Regions from separate parts of the Homo sapiens genome. Here region 2 is linked to region 1. Evidence: promoter capture Hi-C in 16 types of primary human blood cells and fetal thymus (Javierre and others, 2016). All regions are on one chromosome and are shown on one strand. The core of a region is centred on a gene start or on the middle of the fragment in contact, and the rest is flanking DNA. Distances in the headings are between cores, read along the strand shown. Region 1 holds the start of IRAK1 (interleukin 1 receptor associated kinase 1). Region 2 overlaps ABCD1 (ATP binding cassette subfamily D member 1).

Region 1 (6,588 bases), core at 1-2,500:
CGCACCCAAAGCCACCCTCCCCGATCTTGAGCTCCTCCGAGAAGTTGTGGGTGCCCCGGGAAATCTCACAGAGGGGCCAGCAAAACGGAAAGGGGCGGGCTCCCTGCAGGAGGGACACTGAGCTCTCTGGGCCTGGCTGTGGGAAGAGAGCCTGGATCAGGTGGGGTCCCTGTCTCTTCCCTTCTGCCCAAGGCTCCAGGCTCTCCCCACCACAGCTGCCTCCCAGCTGACCCAGCTTGGCTGACTGGGGCTCTGCGCTACATCAAAGGCTGAATTCCTTCCTCCTTGTCTCGAATCTTCCCTGGGGGGCAGGGGACACCTACCTTGGTAGAAGAAGGGGCTGGAGATGGCGGTGGAGGCCACAGGGAAGCAGGGCTTGGGACCAGGCCGAGCTCAGGCCCTGAATGGGTCTGGGAGCCTGGAAAAGCTTCATAAAGACACCAGTGAGAGGCAGGCAGAGACCAGCAGCAGGGTCTACAGCCGTGGCCGTGGTCAAGGTGGGCTCTTCTTTGGGTCCACCGAGCCTAACAACCGGGCCCTCTTACCTGGGGAGAGGAAGGTGGAGGCTGAGGATGGCAACTTCCGGGGGCTCCAGGCCTCGGCCTCGGCGGGTGCAGGGATGCTGCTGGGCCTCGGGGCAGTGGTGCCTGGGGACGGAAGCGGGGCGGGAGGGTGCCCTGGGACGCCAAGGAAGGAAAGGAAGGTTGAGGCCCGGGTGGGGGAGCCCCGTGGGGCCCGCCGGCCTCCCAGCCGTGGGGTGCCCGGAGTCCCGCGCTCACAGGCTGTGATGATGTCCCGCGCACGGAGCAGCTGCAGGTGCGTGAGGATGTGCACGAGGTCGGCCACACGGGCGTTGCGGTTGATCCAGGGCCACAGGACGCTGGCCGTGCGCTGCCCGGAGCGCTCGCACAGCCGCAGCTCGGTCTGGTCGCGCACGATCAGGGCGGCTGCGGGGCGGGGGGCGTCAGGCGTCGGCGCCAGGAGCCCGCGCGCCTCCCGCCCCCCGGCAGCCCGCCGCCACCCACCGAACTGGCACCAGTCGGCGGGCTCCAGGGCGTCCATCACTTTGTAGAAGCGGCACATGACCCAGGGCGGCACCTCGTACAAGAAGTGCTGGGCGCCGGGGGCTGCGGGCTCCCCCGGGCCCGGCCCCCCGGCCATGGCTGCCGCCGCCGGGCCGGGACCTGCCGGGGCCTCTCAGGGCCGCGGCGGGCGCGGGCCTGGGCCGGCCGGGTCCGCGGACACTGACTCACTTCCCCTTCGAGCCGGCCTCGTGCGACGCCCGGCGGGGCGGAAGGGGCGGTGCCCGGGCCCGCCGCCATCTTGCGCGCCGCGGCCGCGCGCTGGGTCACACGGGGGCGCCCCGCGCCGGGGAGGGCCCGGGTCCCGGCGGGTTCCGCGAGCGGCGATCGGCCTCCCGGGCTCGCCCGGGCGGGGCTCTGGAGGACGAACGGCGGCTCCCGGCGTTGGGGACAGAGGGCAGGGCGGAGGCCCGGGCTGCTCGGAAAGGGGCCGGGGCCGGGCCTTCCGAAAGCTCCTGGGCGGCCCTGCCGGAACCCTGCTCTCCACTGCGGCCTGCAGGGCTGTTACCAGGAGCCCTGCCTGCCCGCCCCACGTCTAGCCCCCTGCACACGGCAGCAGCCTTGAGCCATTCAGTCTCCTTAGGTGTCCTGAAATATGCCGAGAACGCTGCCCGCCACAGCCGTGAGTGTATGCGTTGCTGCTGCCCCAGCCCTCATTTGGCAAGGGTGAGCTCAGGCAGCTGTGGTGAAGGCTTCCTGAGCCCGCCGGCAGAGCTCCTGCCACCCCGTACCTGTCCCCTCCTGGGCATCGTCCTTGATTACTTGTCTGGACCGCCACCCCCGGTCCCCGCCCTGAGATGGGGAAGACCCCACAAGCAGCAACGCAGACTTACTCTTTTGTTTCTCCAGCTGGATGTCTCCTCCAGCGACAGTTCCCCTTGCCCTCTTGATCCTGACAGCGAAGGGGTTCCCCACCCCTAGCCCTACAGACTTAGGACTTTTCCTAGAAACGAGAAGTGCCCAAGGCCCACAGCTGGCCCCTGTTGGAGTCTCTTTCCTGAAGCCACCACCACTGTGGCCACTCCCAAGGAAGATGCCAACCATACCATGAAACCCATGGCTTCTCACGGGACAGACTTTACTGAGATGTACCAACTCAAGTATCTGAAATGACTGCACACCCATGCTAACCTCCACGGGGGCACTTGGTCCTACTTACACACAAAGGCCCATCAGCTCACGGAACAGGGCTGGCATACGAGATGCTCAATGCATACAAGTTGACTTTTCAACCCTGGGATCTACCTTTGAAGGCCAGGCCTTCCGAGGGTACCTTCTAGCATGTGCATGTGAAGCTGGACTCCTTTGAGCAGTTGTCTCCTCCAGCCCCTTACCAACCTGGTGAGGCTGCTCCTGAGAGCCAAGGAAGCCAGTAACAAGGGGGCCCCCTTTGGGCAAACCCCTCAGCCTGCCCTTGCCTGGTCAGAGAACCACGTTAGCAGTCAACAGAGGGCACGTGAGGGTCCTGGCCAGAATGAGACACAGGAGGAGCCACAGCCTGCGGGGGTGGGGGTGTCCAAAAGCACCACAGCACATCCAGACCTAGGGGGTGCCCCTACCATACGGGTCTGGAGCAGGGAGGTTGTGCTGCAGGCTGACTCATGCCAGGCCCTTCCCGTCACACGCTGGAGCAGTGTGCCTGGAGAGCACTGGCTTGGAAGAAGCTGAGGGGCCAGCGAGGCCAGCATATGGAGGAGGCTTCCCTTGGCCGCTCGTGGCAGGCCTGAAGGCAGCTACCTGTGTCCAGGGACAGCCAGATCCAATGAGGAAACGCAGCACCATGCTGTCATGTGAGCTGGAGGGGGACTTCTGTCTTATAATGAAAGCCCAGACCTTGAGTCACTTTCACAGAGAGATTTATCGAGAATGCTAACAGCACAGGATACAGTACTTCCCAACAAAAGGTGCAAACGCGTCACTTAGAAAGGCATGCTGAGTATTCTTTGCTTTCACATGTATTAAAAAACTTACAAAAATAAAATAAAACTGCGTGCTGCCCATCTTTTCCAATAGTAAAAGAACCTTATGAAAAAATCACTTGATTTTTACAACAAAAGACACAAACGGACATTTTTATGTAAATTTATAAGGCAAACTCTTTATATAATAAATAGGTTACAGGGATTCAGTGGGGGGGGGGTGTTTTTGAAACGTATACAGGTACATTCAGACAGGTTTACTGAAATGGTACAAATTTCCTTAATAAATTGCCTTTTGTTTTTAAATATATCAGTGCTTTCAGTCATTTGGCTATACACAAAGAACCTTTTTTCTGAACACTACAAAAAAGCAATCAATAATTTTTGTTTTTAAAACGACCTACTTATTTTCTAAAGTAATTGTCCCAAAACACAAAAACTGAAGGTGAATACGATACAGGGCTTTTAGAGACATCTCCAGCTAAGTGTGTCCCGGCCTCTCCCTGTGCCCCAAGTGCACCTCTCCCAACCTCAGACAGGTTTCCAGGCTGGAGCCAGCTCCCTTCTGCACAGGGTGGCCTGTGTTACTGGCAATGCTGTCCATAGCTCTCGGCCTCTGGGCTGGCACAGGGGAGCATGACTTCAACTCAGGAGGGGGCAGACACCCTGCCTAGCTCTTCCAGATGCTGCACCCGGCATGCAATGGTCACTACAGTCAGCACTCTCCGCCTCTCAGAGGAGGGAGGGGCTGTCAGGTGTTTTGGGAGCCCAAAACCATGCCTAATGAGGGTAATGGCTTTTCTAAGGAGATGTTTTCGCCATGGAATGGGAAGGGGTTTTCTCACATCTAAGTTTTGCTGGCGATCGGGTGACAGCCAAGAGAGTGCAAGCCCCCTCCATGGTCATTTTATTGCCCTGGGAAGGGGAGGGTGGGGAATAGAGATGTCACAGTGTTGAGCCCTGGAGGATGGGGTGGGATGTGACGGAAGTGTCTTAAACAGTAATGCCCACGGGGCACACCTTGGAGAGAGAATGCCCACCACCTGGCCTGTCCAGGAAGAGCTGCATCTGCCAACATTAGCCTGACCTGTGCCCACAGCAGAGCGTCCCAGCCTCCTGCTTGGGTGGGCCCAGCCCCATTCTCCCCAGCTCTTCAGCTCTGCACACACACATCCCCTCCTGGCTCCCCTCAAGGAAACATCAATCTTGCCTTTCCTTAAAAGCACGGGATGGTGGTAATAATCTCGGGGGGAGGGGAAGCAAAACAAGAATCCACTGGGCGGAACAAAACCTGGTTTTGCAGTGACTTGGAAAGTGGCAACACATCAGCTATTCGGCTTGCTGGCTTGGAGTGGGACTCCTGGGCTCCACTGCTTTGGGTGGCTTCTGGCTGATCTGGGCAGGGGTCATCTGTTCAGCTCTCCCCTCTCATCTCAGTCACCATCCCCCTCCCTCCGAATGCTTTTGTTTGTAAAGAAAAAGTGTCTAGAAATATTTGTCTCTGGAACAATTACTTTAAACATAGTTACAATACAGACTTCAGTTCAAACACAGAAGAGATTTACTTAGCAAAATTCCTTTCACCCACCAAAAATTACACAAATATAAGCCTCAACACCACAGTTAAGAGGACCAGTAGAGAGAACCTCATGTTTGGAACACAAAAGGAGAAATAAAAACCAAACCAAACCCAAACAGAAAAACCCCAGAAAGACAAGTAAAGGGCAAAGAAGGAAGGGGAAGGGGAGCAAACACAGCACACGTTACAGTGTCCAGATACACGGGAGCCCAGCATGGGCAAGGGCTCGGCACACATTGAGTAACAGTCCTGGTGATATTTGGTCATATATTCATTGACTACTGACTCTGGAGCGGCTGTTATTGATTGAAGCAGTGACAAATCAAACGGAAAGGAGGCCGTGGTAGCAAGGGAAGGAGCAGGCTTCAAGTTCTGCAAGCCTTTTGCACTCCACTGTCCAGCTCCCCAGAAACACTGAACCGGGTGGGCCCCGCTCCATCCGGGCAGGGCTAGAGGTCACCGGGTGAGGCTAACTCGGGCGTCGATTTCATGTCAGTCAGAAAACACGCACGTGGACGCACGCAGACACCCACCTGTTCACGGCCAAACATCAGCGGCAACGGCCTCCTCGCCTCCTCTGCCCCTATCCCAGGCTGGGTGGGAAAGAGCATCATGACCCACTGCTAACACTGAACACACGCCGGAGCTGGCCCCGGATGTGGGCCCAGAGGCTGCCCCAGCCCTGGTCCTCCGAAGGGCTCACGGGTAGCCCGGCCACTGAAAGGGCCTATGGCTGTTTTTCTTTTGGATTCAGGCCTCAGAAGAAGCAATGACAGCAGGGAGGGAAGCTTTTGGCCCTGGTGATTATAATGCTCTCTGCTTTGGAAGAACAAGTTTCTGGATTTTTTTGGTGTTTCTAATTATTAAAAAAAGATGATCAAAAAGAACTGTTACAGCTAAACTCTCTAGCAGATATTGCTCATTAAGAATTACAAAAGCAAATGCAATTACTCGTAGGATGGGGGAGAAGAAAGGGACATTTCTGGAGTCTTCACTACTCCTGGAGGGGACCCCTTGGACTGACGCACATGATTCTGGGGTCCCTGGCGTTCTACCTGGTGCAGCTCACAGGTTCCGAGACAGGCCAGGCCTCCCGTCTCCGCTCCAGCCCCCAGGCTCGACAGAGTGGGAAGGATGAAACACACTCGGACCCTACTGGCAGGGAGGCCTGCGAGGCTGACTCCACATGGGCTCACCCTGACCAGGTCACGGGAAGGGGACTGGGGGAGTCAGGCCACCCCAGTGGACTCCAGCTCCCAGAGGTGGAAGGCGACCAGGCTGTGCCGACTACGTTCCGGACTTCAGCAGGTCAAGGGAGCGCTCCTGCACCCAGAACCTTGGGACCTCTTTCACAAGCACGGGAGAAACAAGAGTGCAAAACCTGGGTGCTGCCTGGAGCCTCCTTCACCTGGCACAGGAAAGCCCTTGAAAGAAGCGAGGAAAAGACCACGAATCTGCTTGGACAGAAGAAGTGACCAGCAGACAGATTTGTCGTTTTTTTTTCTTTTTTTTCTTTTTTTATTTTCCCTTGTCCTATGCTATGGTTATCAGAAATATTGTAATTAAGCAACAGGTATAATTTTAACAGGTCTTTTTTTGTGTGTGTGGAGCCACAAGCAAAATGAGTTTATAATTGTGCAATATACAGATATATATATAAAAATTCAACTGCTTTGTGTGTCTAGTCGGTGCGTTAAATAAAAGGGACAGAAAAACTAAAAGCAAAACTAAAAAGCAAAACAAAAGCCCAGGATAGAGGAGACAAAGCAGGCCTATGCGCACAGTCTATGTGTTACTGGATATAATCAGGGTCACCAGGAAGAACAGCTTTGCCACTTGACACACAAACACTGCGGGGAGAGGGGCTATCAGTGGGCAGGAGCCAAACCTCTTGGCCTTTTCACCTCATCTGCTCTCACTGCTGAGCAGGACCTGATTAAAGGTAGGACAGAATGGGGGTTTGGGGGCAAAGAGATTTCCAAATTCCCCAAATGTTCTTGAATTCAAA
Region 2 (6,588 bases), core at 2,253-4,752, 290 kb before region 1:
CCCATACCGCTGGGTGCTGAGCTCACGAGGGCCCAACTCAGCCAGCCCGCCGCCCACTTCTGCTGCCGGGGCCACCGAGGCCCTGCTGCCAGCCTTGATGCTTTCAGAGGTTGAGCTCGCCTTGCCCCTCCTTGTTGCCTTTTGCCCTGCGCGCACCTCACGCCCTTTGTTACCACTCAGACAAGCCCAGGACTGCAAGTCAGGAACACTACATGTCACTTCTCCAGGCACAGATACCCTCACCCACCTGTCCCTGTCCTCAACCCAACTGCGACTTAGAGGTGGGAGAATGTGCGGAGTACCTGGAGTGAGCCCCTTCATCACTCCAGCCTTGGTTTCCTCGCCCTGAAACAGCTCTTGCACCCTAAGGTGTTTTAGAGGAGTGGGAAGCCTGTTCTACCTGTTATTTTAGTGATAAGATTAAATGTTTAGGTTTCTGCATTCCTGTTGTTTTTGTTTGTTTGTTTTATTTTCTTTTTGGCTTTTGAAACAGGAGTCTGACTGTCGCCCAGGCTGGAGTGCAGTGGCGCGACCTTGGCTCACTGCAGCCTCAACTTCCCAGGCTCAAGTGGTCCTCCCACTTCAGTCTCCCCAGTCGCTGGGACTACAGGCACAAGCCGCCGTACCTGGCTAATTTTAATATTTTTGGTAGAGACAGGGTTTCGCCATGTTGCCCAGACTGGTCTCGAACTCCTGGTCAGGTGATCCTCCCGCCTCAGCCTCCCAAAGTGCTGGGATTACAGGTGTGAGCTGCCGCGCCCGGCCTGCATTCCTGTTTTGTTCCTCTGCCGGATTGCAACTTCTGCATTTGATTTTTAGTCCATTAGTGGTCACCCTTTAAAAGGTCAACACGCAGCCGGGCGCGGGGGCTCCCGCCTGGCATCCCAGCACTTTGGGAGGGTGAGGCGGGCAGATCACGAGGTCAGGAGGTCGAGACCATCCTGGCTAACAGGGTGAAACCCCATCTCTACTAAAAATACAAAAATTTAGCCGGGCGCGGTGGCGGGCGCCTATAGTCCCAGCTACTCGGGACGCTGAGGCAGAAGAATGGCGTGAACCCGGGAGGCGGAGCTGGCAGTGAGCCCAGATAGCGCCACTGCACTCCAGCCTGGGCGAAAGAACGAGACTTCGTCTCAAATAAAAATAAAAATAAAAAATAAAAGATCAACACGCATACTTGTTAGGTTAATCAATAGCTCCGCCTTCTCCTGGACCTTAGAACGCAGAAGCAGCCCCGTGGGGCATGGCATCATAGCCCAGCCAAGAGTTGGATTTGTACCTAGTTTTTCCTCTTTGCTATCGCCTTATCCACACGTGTTGAAACTCACTCGCATGTTTGCTGAGTTCTGTGCTCACCATTTCGTTCCTACATCTCAATTTCTCTTCTATGTTCTGTTATCTTCCTCCAGATAGACATGTTTTTAGTTTTTTGTTTGTTTGTTTTTTAACTCACAACTATGCTCAGGACAAACAGTCATCAGTGCTTCTAGTTGTGGTTGGTTTTTAAAAAAGGTTCTTTCAGCAAGGGTTTTGTCATGGGAAATTCTTGATTATTTTATTGTAATTCTTTGTGTTGTTTAGTTTTTTGTTTGTTTGTTTGTTTTTTGTAGAGGCAGGTTCTCGCTGTGTTGCCCAGGCTAGTGTGGAACTCCTGGGCTCAAGCGGTCCTCCCGCATTAGCCTCTCAAAGTGCTGGGATTACAGACGTGAGCCACCACACCCAGGCTGTTGTCATTCTTGATTATTTTTGTTGAAAATGTTTCTATTTCACCCTTATTCCCAAGCTAAAGTTGAGTTGCGCAATGGAGTCTAGGTGGACTGTTCTTTTCTCTCAGCCCTTTCACAATGTCTCATTGTCTCCCTGCTTCTTCTGTAGCTGCTGACAAATCTGTAGCTGCTAACAAATTGTCCTCCCTGAGTACCCTGTGTTTCTTTTTTTCTGGGTACTTTGATCACTTTCTTTCTTTTTGGCATTCTGCAGTTTCACTATGACATGTTTAGGTGTCAGTTTTTGTTGATTCTGCTTGAGACTTGTTATATGTCCTTTGAATATTTGAGTTTTTCAATCATTCTGGAAGATTCTCAGCTATTAGCTTTTCAGATATTGCCTGACTCTCATTCTTTTTTCCTGTTCTTCTAGAACTGGCAGCCAGTGCTGGACTTCTGACTCTCTTCGTTGTGTCTTTCGGTTTCTGTTTACTGTTTCCCATCTCACACTGTCTGTGCTGAATTCTGGGGATGCCCTGAGGCCTTCCTGTTTGCTCATTTTCCAGTTCACCAGTTTTCTCTTTGGCCATGTCTAATTGGAATTTTGTTCACATTTCAGTGGCTGTTTTGTAAGTTCTATTTCATTCTATTTCAAATAGGAATTTGAAAATGGACATTTCCTTTTTCAAGTAGAAATGTCAGGCTGTTTCTGTGTCTTATTTGCTCATCTTTTTGACTGCTCCTTTTATACTGTGTATCAGGTTAGTCATACTTACCCCACCGTCTCTATCTGATGGTTTGGTTAGCTTCAGTTCTTGGGAGTATCATTCGCCTGTCTTCTGTCTGCTGGTCTTCACTCATGGTGGATCATTTCCTTGTGGGTTTTGCAACAGAACTTCTATGGGGATTGGTGTGGCCTCAATGGAGGGTGTAAGTCCAAATGTCCTTCTGTTTTGGCCAAGCACTCCAGGGTAAGCAGTTGGAGGCCATTAGTTAGTGCGGAGGGGATGGTTCCTGAATTGAGAGGTGGTTTCATTTGAATTCATTTGAACTCCAGGCACATTGTTACAAATTTTCAGAGGAGGCTTTTTGTTCATTGGGCATAGAGCCCAGGCTAAGCAAGGAAAGCTTCCTGGTCTTTGCCCTGCCTGCCTCTGGGGCTATCAAAGGATCACCTGGCTGTCTGCTTCTCTTTGCTCCCAGAAGTTTCCCTTGCTTTCCGTCAAGCTTGGCTCTGCTCGAAATAGTGTCGTAGTTTACCCAGTTTGGTGGGAAGAGGGTTTTCGATTTATAAACAGAAGTCTGATTCTCTCCCTGTTCCTGTTTCCACCTCGGGGCTTCCATGCCCTCAACTGTCTGTGTCATCCTCTGGGTGACTCACCAAGAGGAAGGATCTAATTCGGGGACTGCACATCAAGGGCAGCCTTGATGCTGGCGTAGGTGCCCAGCCCAGTCAGCGCACCTAGCCCCGGGCACCGAGACAGCCCGCGAGACAGCACCTGCAGCCGCTTCGCTCCATGGCTGCCATTGGTCACATCGGGCTGCTCCCTGCCCTGAAGGCTTAGGACTTTTCTGAGCCTCTGCTGTGCCAGGCTTTGTGGGCTCCTGGCCCTGCTCTGGTGGTCCTCAGAGCCAGCAGCCTTTGAAGGCTGTGAAGCATTCCCTTTCCCCTGGCTTGATAGGCTCTGTCCTGTGGCCGTCTGTTTTTTTTTGGAGGGGGAGCTTTTGAGATGGAGTCTCACTCTGTCTCCCAGGCTGGAGTGCAGTGGCACGATCTTGGCTCACTGCAACCTCCATCTCCCGGGTTCAAGTGATTCTCCTGCCTCAGCCTCCCAAGTAGCTGGGACTACAGGTACACGCCACCATGCCTGGCTAATTTTTGTGTTTTTAGTAGAGATGGGGTTTCGCCATGTTGGTCAGGCTGGTCTTGAACTCCTGACCTCAAGTGATCCACCTGCCTCGGCCTCCCAAAGTGCTGGGATTATAGGTGTGAGCCACTGTGCCTGGTCCTGTGGCCTTCTTATTTCCCCAAATGCCAGGCCTGCTCTGTCTTGGGGCCTGTGCCAGGAGCACTCTTTCCTCTGCTGCCCCATGGCGCAGCCCCCCTAGGCAAGGCCCGGCCTGCCCACCGCCACCTTTCCTGTCTCCTTCCCTGCCCCACTGCTCTCCCAAGCACTCGACACCCCGTCAGTGGCGCTTTTCTCTCTCCCTGCCATGGACTGCAAGCTCCATGGGGTCAGGGATTTTTGTCTGTTTTGTCCCTGCTGTGTCCCCTGCATCGGGTGGCTAGTGAGGGCTCCAGGTGCTTCAAGGAGGTGGAGCGCACTGGGTGGGAAGGCAGGCTCTTACCGGTTGGAAGATTTAGATAAGCTTTGCTGGGCTGGTGTGCAAGGCAGGTGGGCTCAGGAGATGGGCAGGGCCTGTGGCTCCCACTCCAGCCCTGAGGCCTTGCTCTGTCCAGCTCTGGGGCCCTGGCCTTATTCACCCAAGGCTCCAAGAGAACCTGCAGAAGGCAGCTGGTTCTACGCCAGGATGCCCTGGGCACAAAGACTTGCAGACCCTTCCCTTTGTCCACAGCGACTGTCCAGCTCTCAGAACACCTGGGGAGGAGGGCTGTGTCCTTGAGAGCACCGTGGGAAGGAAGGTCCAAGGCCTTCGACCTTTAGGATTCACATCCCCGCCCCGCCAGCCCAATCTAGTTCCCTGGTTTCCCGGGCCAGGCCCCTTTCCACCCTGCATGGCCCTGAGCGGATACTGCGTTCCGTGTCTTCCCCCAGCCCCCAGCCAATGATCCCTGAGGCTTCCCCCTCAGGATCACACCCACCCCTGGATACAGTCCTCGGGTCCTTCACAGGACATTCCCACCACTTCAGCCACACCCCAGCACCCTCAGAGGCGGCCTTCGCCCTTGCTCCCCACCTCTGCTCCTGTGGGGAATCTAAGGATCAAGAAACTGAGAGTCAAGGCCATTGATGAGGGTCAGGGGTGCTGCCACGGGGCCTAGAGTGTGACAGAAAAGCAAATTAAGACAGGAGCAGCTCCTGGGAGAAGCAGACACCAAACAATACGGCTGCTGGCCCAGAGGTCAAAAACCATGGCCTAGAGGGGGCGGTCAGGAAGTGGGACATTAGGCCGGGCGTGGTGGCCCATGCCTGCAATCCCAGCATCTTTGGAGGCCAAGGCAAGTGGATCACCTGAGTTCAGGAGTTTGAGACCAGCCTGGCCAACATGGTGAGACTTCGTCTCTACTAAAAATACAAAAAAAATTCGCTGGGCTTGGTGGCGGGTGCCTGTAATCCCAGCTACTCGGGAGGCTGAGGCACAAGAATCCCTTGAACCTGGGGAGGCAGAGGTTGCAGTGAGCCAAGATCACACCACTGCACTCCAGCCTGGGCAACAGAGCAAGACTCCATCTCAAAAAAAAGAAAAGAAAAAAAAAAGAAAGTTGGCGTTTCAAAGCCAAACAGCTCTGGGCGTTGGATGACAAAGTTCAGATGTGCCCCAGGAGGGGCGACATCAGTGGTGCAGGACAGAGGGCCGGTGGAAGGAGCTGGCTGTACGTAGAAACAAAACCAGATGCCTACTGGTGCATTTAAAAATCAACGTTATTGAGACGTAATTAACATACTATACAATTCTTCCTTTTCCATGTACAGTTTAAATTCATTCACAGAGTTGTGCAGCCATCATCACTAACTCCAGAATGTTTTATTTTTATTTTATCCCCCAAAGAAACCCCAGACCCATGAACAGTCACTCCTCATTCCCTCTCTCCAGCCCCTGGCACCCACTCATCTGCTTCCTGTCTCTGTGGATTTGCCTATCTGGACATGTCCTAGAAATGGAATCATGTGCTCTGTGGCATTTTGTGACTAGCTTCCTTCACTGAGCATCATGGTTTCAAGATTCGTCCATGTCATAAGATGAATCAGTCCTTCATTCCTTTTCATGGCTGAATAATATTCCATTGTGTGCATAGACCACAATTTCTTTATCCATTCATCCCTTGATGGACATTTTGGGTTTCTTCATGTTTTGGCTATTGTGAATAACACTGCTGTGAACATCCATGGACAAGTCTCTATGTGTGCAGATATTTTCGTTTCTCCTGGGTGTGTAGCTAGGAGTAGAATTGCCAGGTCACATGGTAACTGGACGTTTCACTTTTTGAGGAGCTGCGAGACTGTTCTCCACAGTGGCTGCCCCATTTTACCTTCCCGCCAGCAGTGTTGGAGGGTTCCACCTTTTCATCGTGGCTAGCACTGGTTATCATCTCCTTTGTATTCTAGCCACCTAGTGGGTGTGAGGCAGTATCTCTTGGTGGTTTTGATTTGCATTTCCCTGATGACTAATGACGCTGAGCCTCTTTTGATGTGTTGAGTGGCCATTTGTATGTCTTCTTTGGAGAAATGTCTGTTCACGTCCTTCGCCCATGTGTGATCGGGTTATCTCTGTCGCTGAGTTGTAAAAGCTCTTTGTATATTCTGGATACTGCACCCTCATCAGATGTGTGGTTCACCAGTCCAGAGTTTTCTCCCAGTCTGTAGGTTGTCTTTTTCACTGTCTCGATATTGTCCTTTGGTGCACAAAAGTGTTGAGTTGAATGAGGTTCAGTTGATCTGTTTTTCTCTTGTTGCTCATGCTTTTGGTGTCCTAGTGAAGGAACTATTGCCATATCCAAGGTCGTGAAGTTTTATCCCATTTTCTTCTGAGAGTTTCATACTTTGGGCCACACTACACATCAGCCTGTGATGTGCTCTGGGTTGGTTTGTCTGTATGGTGTGAGGGGTCCCTCTCCTGCACATAGAGAGAAAGAGAGAGAGAGCTGGTTGCCCCGGCACCATTTGCAGAAGAGCCTCGCCTTTCTCTCCAGCGGCTCATT

Evidence for each region. Contacts are between HindIII fragments. The CHiCAGO score rates a contact against its expected background, and 5 or more counts as called.
Region 2: a contact is called between a fragment that was not itself captured here and the fragment with the promoter of IRAK1 in region 1, in 4 of 17 cell types (activated CD4 T cells, monocytes, M0 macrophages and 1 more). The highest score is 6.4, in activated CD4 T cells.

Annotation. Positions count from the first base shown.
Region 1 is chrX:154,018,652-154,025,239 of GRCh38, forward strand. IRAK1 (interleukin 1 receptor associated kinase 1) reads right to left here and starts at 1,251. Exons shown (of 14, transcript NM_001569.4): 1 at 1,026-1,251; 2 at 780-947; 3 at 546-677; 4 at 324-427; 5 at 1-136. The coding sequence starts at 1,161. MIR718 (microRNA 718) reads right to left here and starts at 1,338; the gene lies at 1,269-1,338. It overlaps MECP2 (methyl-CpG binding protein 2), which reads right to left. Exons shown (of 3, transcript NM_001110792.2): 3 at 2,922-6,588. RefSeq lists silencers at 621-690, 701-800, 1,151-1,530 and enhancers at 1,216-2,185, 2,301-2,370. The HindIII fragment of the contact is 4,941 bases long and covers 426-5,366 here.
Region 2 is chrX:153,729,457-153,736,044 of GRCh38, forward strand. The region is part of intron 2 of ABCD1 (ATP binding cassette subfamily D member 1); the gene reads left to right. It overlaps PLXNB3-AS1 (PLXNB3 antisense RNA 1), which reads right to left. Exons shown (of 3, transcript NR_199696.1): 3 at 5,396-6,588. Among named protein-coding and RNA genes, the nearest start is that of ABCD1, 7.9 kb to the left of the region's middle. RefSeq lists an enhancer at 3,856-4,548. The HindIII fragment of the contact is 1,143 bases long and covers 2,932-4,074 here.